3 separate regions of the Homo sapiens genome follow, and regions 1 and 2 are each linked to region 3. The links are contacts of gene promoters, found by promoter capture Hi-C in human tissues and cell types (Jung and others, 2019). All regions are on one chromosome and are shown on one strand. Each heading gives the region's core, a stretch centred on a gene start or on the middle of the fragment in contact. The rest is flanking DNA. Distances are from core to core; before and after follow the strand shown.

Region 1 (2,700 bases), core at 11-2,510, 610 kb before region 3:
AGGGAGGGAATGAATGAGTGAGGGAGGGAATGAGTGAGGGAGGGAATGAGTGAGTGAGGGAGGGAATGAGTGAGGGAGGGAATGAGTGAGTGAGGGAGGGAATGAGTGAGTGGGAATGAATGAGTAAGTGAGGGAGGGAATGAGTGAGTGAGGGTGGCAATGAATGAGTAAGTGAGGGAGGGAATGCGTGAGAGAGGGAAGGAATGATTGAGTGATGGAGGGATCGAATGAATGAGGGAGGGAGGGAATTAGTGAGGGAGGGAGGGAATTAGTGAGTGAGGGAGGGAATGACGGAGTAGGGGAGGGAATGAATGAATGAGTGAGGGAGGGAATGAATGAATGTGGTCACTCCCCGCGGTCCCCAAGCACCCGGACACCGTGACCTTGGCTGCGGCCCCGCCGTCGGCGAAATGCGGGCGGGGGGGCCGGGAGAGCCCGGGGGCCAGCACGGTCGCGCGTTGGCGAACGGACTGTCCCGCGCGCTCGCGGGTCTGGGGGCCTCCCGACCCGGTCCTGCTTGTTGCGTGGGCGGGAGGGGGGACCGGAAGCGCCCCTCCCCCACGGGCTCGCCCCGCCCCCGCCGCTCGCGGTCCCCCACGTCCCGCCCGCGCCCCGGCCCAGGGCCAGCCCCCGGTTTAGGGAGCATCCACACTTCTCCTCCCGTCGGTCATGCTCGCATTCGGCCTTTTGTACGGGGTCAGCTCATTGGGCGGATGAGAAGGTGTCCCCGCCTACCGCCCCGAACTGGCCAATTGCAAGGGGTTTCACAGGGCGCTGAACTCGCGGGAGCGTCACCGTCCTGCGACGCTTCAGAGGATCCTTAGGCCTCAGTGGTCTTTGACCCCCGGCCCCAGGACCTGACCCCAAGGAAACCTCCGGGACCTGTGGCTGGAGAGGTGACCGCCAGGCATCCGGGGAGCCTTTGGAGATCTCGGCTTCCTTTTTCCCCCGCTGCTTGCCGGCGTGTCCTCGGGTGGACGCGGGCAGCCCGAAGGGGAGTTTACAGACGCTCCCTCACATCGGGGACGCGGCTCCTTTAAGGGCGTAGGTGTCCAGGGCGCCGCCTGACTGGAAAGTCGCCCCCCGGCCGGGCTCCTGGGGCGGACCCGGGGCGCGGGCGCGCGGCGGCGGGGCGCGGGCAACGGGGAGCGCTCGGCGGCGCGGGAGGCGCTCGGGGCCGGGCGGCAGGAGCGGCGCGCGAGGCAGGCGTGCAGAGGGCAGCCCCGCGTTAGGCCCCGCCCCGCGCGCCCCGCCCGCGCCAGGGTCCTCGGAGCTGCTCTGGCTGCGCGCGGAGCGGGCTCCGGAGGGAAGTCCCGAGACAAAGGGAAGCGCCGCCGCCGCCGCCCCGCTCGGTCCTCCACCTGTCCGCTACGCTCGCCGGGGCTGCGGCCGCCCGAGGTGAGCGCGTGCGGGGGCCGGGCCGGGGCCGCGGGGCGGGGGTCGGGCCGAGGCCTCTACTCCTGTTGGGCCCGGGCCCCCGACTGCCCCGCGCCCCGCCCCGCCGAGCCGGGCCCCGCGCCGCGGCCGAGCTTTCCGGGGAGCCCGAGAGGCCCCGCGCTCGGCGCCGGCTCGGTCCGCGCTGCTGGCGCCGCTGGGCTGCGGCCCGAGCGGCCGGGCCGCCGCAGGCCTTCGGGGCCGGGGCTCCCCCACTTCGCCCCCGAGGTGCGCCTGGCGCGGGGCCGGGGCAGCCACCTGCAGCCGGGGCCCCGCGAGGCCGCGCCTTCCTCCTGCGCGGGGAGCGGCTTCCGGGGTCACGGTCGCCCCGCGGACGGATAGGATGGGCCGCGGGGGGAGAGTCTTGGATTGCAACATCGCTGGCTCGCGGGGGTGGGGGCCGGCGAGCGGGCTTGTTTTCGGTGCCTTAAAACCAAAACAAGTGTAAGTTTTCTTGTGCCTCTGAAGATGCTCCGCTGGCGCTTGCTGGGGCCCTGAACGTGAGCGCCTCGCTGGAGGGGGAGTTTTATTCTGTTTTGGACATCTCTTTTTATCGGTTGAATAGTAGTTGGTTCTGGTAGTTAACGTGCGTAGGAGGAATGTAAGGGAATGATTAGTTGGGCTTGTGATCGTGGCCTGTAGTCACGCTTGAATCGCAGAATGAAGTGGTTTTGTTTGTATAATTGGAAGTTACGCTTAGTTTCTCTGTTTGCAAAGTGCCTGTCTTTGGGGAGTTCGGTTTGTTTCCTTTTACAGGACCTACCCCAAGTGTTTCTTGCTCTTCAAGAAACGTTGCCTTTGGGTAGAGAACCTATGCAACGGAAGACGGGACGGATCCTCAGTTTGCCCTGATTGCTCATTCAGAGAGGTCCGTTCCCTAGGCCACTGGGTGATTGCTGGTGTGCGCTTGTATGGTGTCTCAGGGTTTGGGATCTTGCTTCAGAAACATTCTCGGGGCCTGGGGCAGATCAGGTGCGGCCAGGTAAGCGTCTCCCGACTGCAGGTGCTTGGGTCTTGCAGAAGGGAATACCTCCCCAAGCCTGGGAGAGTTTGCATTTGGGTGCAGGAGGGCCTTTAAAGGCTTCTTGTGCCAGCCTGTCGTGGCGACCACCCGTTGTGGAGATCAGTGCGGTGGAGTTGTGGGAGGTGAGTGCTTTGCTCACCCTCAGCCAGGAAGTTGCTCTGAAGTCGGTGCTGTCAACCAGCAGAGCAAGGCGGTGATCCGAGAAGCTAAAGCTCAGCCGGTTGCGGGCGCCCAGCAGGAGG
Region 2 (2,978 bases), core at 49-2,548, 570 kb before region 3:
CCACACACCGGCCCTGATAGAACAGCGATCCCATTCTGCCTCTACTGCAACTCCACAGGCCGAAAACCTGAAGTGACAGTTGGGGCTGGAACCGTGGTCTGTCTGAACTGTTCCCCTGTCCGTCCCTTATGCTCCTCCTGGGGTCTGTCGGCAGGAAACATGATGCTGGGAGCATAGCAGGAACAGCAGGCCGCCGGGTCACACTGCTGTGGGGCCCCTGGACTCACCTACGATGCAGAAGGTGGCAGCAAACGCTTCCACGCAGGAAAGTCTGTAGGGCCGGCCATAGTTCACGGGGTTGGCGGCCACCAGGTAGGGCAACAGGCGCAAGTGGCTCCCTCGCATCTTCCCAAACGGTGTCTCGTCCAGCCTGGCCCAGGAGCAGTCGATGACGGCGACCCCAGACTGCGCCACCAGCTGTCTGCCAGGGACAGCATGGGATAAGTTCAGGAGCCAGCACTACCCAAGGTGGAGCATGCCCCGGAGAATGGCCTAGCTAAGGGATTCAGGGACATCATTCCGCCATCCCCAAACACCCTCAAACGGACTTCACGAGCAAGCTTTTGAGGCAGCTGCTTGGGGCACCTGGAGCATGTGTTTATTCACTCAACAAACGTTTATTACCCCAAAACCTCCTTTATCCCAGGCTCTGCGCTACGCAACGGAGGCAAACTAGACAGACGTTCCCTGCCCACGTGGGTGTGGATGTGGGTGCGACATACAAGTGCCACTAAACCATCCCTGAAGGGAACCACGCGCTGGAAATGAAGACGACCTCGGGCAGGCCTCCCGCGCCTACCTGTCTGCGGGGGACGCGTACTGCTTGCCCACGGGGCTCAGCACCAGACCGCCGAATCTGTGGCCCAGGCGCAGGCAGCGCACCAGCCCCAGGCGGGCCAGCTTGCGGCCCGTGCAGCGCCGGGGGTCGCAGTGGCCCAACTCCCACATGGCCAGCGTGCAGGGCAGCGCCGCCGGGCCCGGGCCGCCCTCGCCGTCAGCCGCCCCTGGCTCCACGGAAGCTGCACGAGAGAGAGAAGGGCACTCGGCCTCAGCGTGGGACCCCCGGGCAGGCCCTCAAACCCTGACCCGCTCTCCCCATCACGCCTCGCTCACCCTGCAGCGCGGCGCCGACCTCCTCGGCGAAGGCCTCCAGGGAGCGCGTCGGGAGGTGCCGAGGGCGGCCGCCTTCCGCCCCCGGCCCGCGCGCTGCCCTCCTGCGGCCCATGGCGCGGACCTGGGGTGCCGGGGACTCCCCACCCCACGGCCGCGCCCCTCGGCCTCCCAATGGGCTGTGCGGCTGCCAGCGCTTGCGCCGGACGCCACTTCCGGTCCCCGTGGTCACGTGACCGTCACTTCACGTGACCGCGCGGCGGCCGCTGCGGCGCGATGGCGGCGGGGCTGGCGCGGCTCCTGTTGCTCCTCGGGCTCTCGGCCGGCGGTGAGTGGCCCGGCCGTCCGCGTCCCCAGGCCCCGCGCGCGCTCTGCACCCCGGCCTCCCCGCTCACGGTCTCGCTCCCCGTAGGGCCCGCGCCGGCAGGTGCAGCGAAGATGAAGGTGGTGGAGGAGCCCAACGCGTTTGGGTGAGCAGCCTCGCGGGCTGGCGGCTCGAGCGGGGGACGGCCCGGGCCCGTTCCCCGCTGACCTTGCCGCTTCCCGTAGGGTGAACAACCCGTTCTTGCCTCAGGCCAGTCGCCTCCAGGCCAAGAGGGATCCTTCACCCGTGTCTGGTGAGTGAGGAGCGCTGTTGGCCGGCGCGGGGGTGGCCGCGGGGAGCAGCAACAGTGGAGGATGGATGAGTGACCCTGAGAGTTACGGCCCGGAGTCTAAAGCATTGGTTTGTCAGCCTTCTAAAATTAATGTGGAAGTACGAGAGAATATACCAGAACGTTCTTGTAGCGAATTAAATTATCTCCAGACTTAGTCCTTCCTTTCCTTTCCGAGAGGTAACTGCTGTTAATAGTCTGGTGACTTTGCAGACGCGTTTCTGTGCTTTTACGTGCGTGTCTATGCAACTGGAAAACGTATAGTTTTTGTAATCTAATCGCTTTTTTAAAAAATCATGCTGCGCGAGTATTTGGCTGATTTGTCGTTGTCACTCGCTGTATCTCTCGGGACGCTTCATGGTGATGATATAGGTCTTCGTTCTTTCTCTTGGTGCTCAGCACGCGATAGGATGGCACTGCACTCCCCGATTGTATTTAGGTTCTTGCCATTTTTTTGGCCATTAGAAATAGTTCTGTGGAGAACATGCTGTGTAGGTGCTTTGGTTTGCCCTCAGGTGAGCGGTTTCCCAGTGCAGGATTCCAGAAGTGGAATTGGTGGGTCATGAGTATATATATCATTTAAACGCTGAATGAGTATTAAATATAATAGACAAAAATCCAAGAATTTTTTTTTTTTTTTTTTTGAGACAAGAGTCTCGCTCTGTCGCCCAGGCTGGAGTGCAGTGGCACGATCTCGGCTCACTGCAACCTCCGCCTCCCAGGTTCAAGCGATCCTCATGCCTCAGCCTCCCGAGTAGCTGGGATCACAGGCATGCATCACCATCACGCCCAGCAAATTTTTGTATTTTTAGTAGAGATAGGGTTTATTTCACCGTATTGACCAGGCGGGTCTCGAACTCCTGACCTCAAGTGATCCGCCCATCTCGGCCTCCAAAAGTGCTGGGATTATAGGCGTGAGCCACCGCGCCCAGCTTTAGTAATTTTATTATCGAATACCTTTATGTGTTAGGGTCTGTGCTGGGGTTGCAGAAACGAACACAGATATACCAATGCTTGTCCTCATGGAGCTGACAGTCTAATGGGGAGGGATGGAGGAACAGGCACTGAGCCTGTAGAATTAGATAAAATACATAGAATGGCCAATGATGAAAAATGCCATGTAGATGTGTGAAGCAGAGGAGGGAGTGTGTGTATGTGTGTTAGAGTATTGTTTGGGGGATCGCTTTTTTTATTTTTTAGAGACGGGGTCTTGCT
Region 3 (3,126 bases), core at 255-2,754:
CAGCCAGGTGAGCCCCGGGATGGACTCCATGTCCCCTAGCCACCACCTGACTTCCCCAGCACCCCACACTGGCACCAGCCCTTCAGATCTCAGAAGCGAGCCACCCTATTCTCACGGAGCCCCTTCCTGCCTGCCCTCCAAACCCAAGAGTAGTTTTAGTACAAAAGGCAAAGTTAACAAATAGGGGTAGGCGTCAGGGAAGGAAGAGGATCAGAGGATCGGGAACGGAGAAACTGGAGCACCTGGAGAAGCGTCTGGGTCCTGCCACCCCCACTGACTCCCCAACTGGCCTTGGGCAGGGTCCTCTCTGCAGGCGCTGGGTCCAAGCTTGGGGATGAGCAGCCACCAGCGCGGGCTGCTTCAGCTGAGGCTGCCGCACCCCCACGTCCATCCTGGGTAGAGGCAGGACAGCCACAGAGCCCCATGCACGGGGCTGGACTCACCCTGGGCACTCACCTAAAGGCAGTCTCCTCCTTTCCAAAGCCCAGACTTTCTCCGGACTCCCAGGACCACCAACAAGGGTTCCTGTGCGCAGACTCGGGGGTCTTGGGGAGGAAGGACGCTTTCTAGGTGGCTGCCTGGAACCTGGAGGCCCCTTTCTACAGTACCTGGCCAGCGGTCGGTCACACCTGAGTGCCCAGAGTGAGCGGGCGGCAGAGGCATTTCTGACGCTGCCAGGTAATCCCACGGGCTGGAAACGACCTCTGGGCTGGGAAGCCACCGCCTCCCCCAGTCCTGCTGGGTCCCTCAGCAGAGAGAACGGAACCGGGGCTTTCCCCACAGTTTTCAAAGTTTCAGGGAATCCTAGCCAAGTATCATTCCTTCTTCCGGAGCCGGGACCCCAGGTCAAGCCTGGGGCCCCCACAGGGCGGTCCCAACCCCACTGCCCGGAGCGCACCCCTGCTCCCTGGGAGGCAGGATATCGTGCCGCTGCTCCCTGGGGCGCACGATACCCTCCCCAGGAAGGCGCCGGTCAGGGCGGACGGGCCAGGGTGCTCACCGGTACCAGGCGAGGCCGCGCTCGTAGCACCTGTCGAAGAAGTGGGGCTCAGAGCCCAGCGCGCGGACGTCGGGGTGCAGCCGCAGAAACTCCAGCAGGGCGCGCGTGCCGCCCTTCTTCACGCCAACGATGAGCGCTTGCGGGAAGCGCCGGCGGCCGGGACCGCTGGCCAAAGGCAGGCCGGGTGCTCCCGGGCGGTGGACGGAGCTGGACGGCTCGGAGGGCGCGGGGGCCGGCGCGGGGGCGCGGGCGGCCGGCGGGCAGCGGCCGGGGAGGGCGCAGAGGCAGTAGGCGCCGAGCACCAGGGCCACGAGCAGCATCGGCGCGCGGGACGCCCGCAGAGCGGCCCCTTGCCCGGCCCCTGCGCCCTGGCCGCCCCCGGCCCCGCCGCCCAGGCCGCCGCTACCTGCCATGGGGTCGCGCCGCTCCAGGCCCGGGAGCGGGGGCAGCAGGCGGGCGCGCATCTCGGCCCGCGCGCCGCTCAGTCCGTGGGTGCCCGGCTTGTGCTCTGCGCCCGGCGGTCCCGCAGCCTGGGAGCGGGCGCGGGGCGGGACCGGGGGCGGGGTCTGGACGCCCTCCCCCCTCCCCCTCCCCCGCCCACTCCGCCTCCGAGGCCACTGCCTGGGCTGGACCCGCCGGCAGCCGCCACCACCCGGGCGCGACTCGAGCTGCCGGGACCACCAGGACGCTCCTGCTCCGAGATCCCAGGCCCTGGCTCGCTTGACTCCGGCATCTTCACCTCTGCGCGGGGAGGATGCGGCGGCGGTGGCCGTTCGGGACGCAGGGCAGGGACAGGGCGGCGCGCGGGCCTCGGGACCCTCTGTTTGAAGACCGATCCCCTTCCCCCCCCACCCCACTCCGGGACGTGCGCGGCAGGTGCATAGGCCAAGCCTTGGCCTGCAGGAGCGGGAGCCTCATCGCCAGGCCAAGGGGACCCAGGAAAAGCGTCGATCCGGGCACTCGGCCTGCCAAGGGAGAAAGAGGCCGGGACAGCACCCTAGTGTGCAGAGAGGGATCCCAGAACGTGTGGGGGGAGTCTGCGGCCGGGAATGGCGTGCGTCCTGCACTCCCAGCTGACAGTCACACATCGGGTCACAGCCTGGCCGCTGAGAGGTCAAGTCACCTCTGGTTACTGTTTTAGAATGGAGGGGACAGGCTCAGAGAAAATAGGTTTCCCTCCCAGGGGCCCAGTGGTGAACTGAATTCAGGCCTGAGACATACTCTGTCTACTAAGTCACCCCATCTGCCCAGCCTTGGTCCACCTGGCACTGCCCAGAGACATCAGTGATGCATTTCGGAAGCTGGCAAAGTGGACCCCACTGGAGTACAAAGGACTCAGGGACCCCTGTGCTGGGGAAGAGAAGGAGCCCAGGACCTCCCCCAGGGGCTGCCTCTGAGGGGCGTGAGATTCAGGGGCCTCTCGGGTGGGACCTGCGGGGGCCGCTAGACACTGCGGGAACTTCACATCCCCAACGCCCAGCAGCAGCCTGCAGGGAAGGCAGGGGAGGCGAGCCGGGCTCAGAGAGGGCGAGCAACTTGCCCCATCCGAAGGCAAAGGTGGTATGAGACCCGGGTCCTCTCTCCACCTCTGCCCCAGCCTTCCTGGCCACAGGGCTGGCGCCAGGCAGGCACGGCACAGGCTCCCGGCAGAGGCCCAGCCTCTTCCCAGCCAAGGGCTTGCGGCCCCTGTCCTGGGCTCTGCTGCGTTAATGAGCCGTTCCAGCCCTGATGGCATCTGGACAAGTCCCAGCAGCCGGGCTGCCTCAAGGGGCCGAAGGCCTCCACGACCCACAGACATTCCGGAGCTCCTACCCAGCAGCAGCCCTGGCCAGAGGGGGCCACACGGGGCTGACGGGGTGAAGACCACTGACCAGTCCCCCAGCCCCGGCTCCAGACATGCGGGCTGCACCTGCTCATCTGGGCAAGCCTCTGCAGGAGCCCCGTGGGCAGGCAGCGGGCACAATGCGAGGAGAGCATGCTGGCTTATGCTGGGTCACAGGAAATTCTTCTTCTGGTCTAGCTTGAAACGGTATTGTTCCCAACGGGCTGGCTCGGGGTGGGGGCTGGGGTCCCACCCTGCAGCATCCACCCCACAGTCTCAGCAGTCCCCACGGTCTCAGGAGTCC

What was found. The method cuts DNA at HindIII sites, captures the fragments that hold promoters and counts their contacts. A contact is called where the count stands out against the background at its distance.
Region 1: the fragment with the promoter of UBE2I here is called in contact with the fragment with the promoter of HS3ST6 in region 3 in 1 of the 25 tissues and cell types used here (dorsolateral prefrontal cortex).
Region 2: the fragment with the promoter of TSR3 here is called in contact with the fragment with the promoter of HS3ST6 in region 3 in 1 of the 25 tissues and cell types used here (spleen).

The regions. Positions count from the first base shown.
Region 1 is chr16:1,308,376-1,311,075 of GRCh38, forward strand. UBE2I (ubiquitin conjugating enzyme E2 I) reads left to right here and starts at 1,261. Exons shown (of 7, transcript NM_003345.5): 1 at 1,261-1,398. RefSeq lists silencers at 330-619, 1,110-1,409, 1,610-1,799 and enhancers at 830-1,069, 1,771-2,382. The HindIII fragment of the contact is 23,762 bases long and covers 1-2,700 here.
Region 2 is chr16:1,350,580-1,353,557 of GRCh38, forward strand. TSR3 (TSR3 ribosome maturation factor) reads right to left here and starts at 1,299. Exons shown (of 6, transcript NM_001001410.3): 1 at 1,114-1,299; 2 at 800-1,019; 3 at 228-421. The coding sequence starts at 1,225. It overlaps GNPTG (N-acetylglucosamine-1-phosphate transferase subunit gamma), which reads left to right and starts at 1,352. Exons shown (of 11, transcript NM_032520.5): 1 at 1,352-1,438; 2 at 1,523-1,580; 3 at 1,660-1,727. The coding sequence starts at 1,387. RefSeq lists a silencer at 877-1,576. The HindIII fragment of the contact is 21,021 bases long and covers 1-2,978 here.
Region 3 is chr16:1,916,911-1,920,036 of GRCh38, forward strand. HS3ST6 (heparan sulfate-glucosamine 3-sulfotransferase 6) reads right to left here and starts at 1,505. Exons shown (of 2, transcript NM_001009606.4): 1 at 1,001-1,505. The coding sequence starts at 1,413. RefSeq lists enhancers at 1,598-2,159, 2,160-2,723, 2,724-3,126. The HindIII fragment of the contact is 13,256 bases long and covers 1-3,126 here.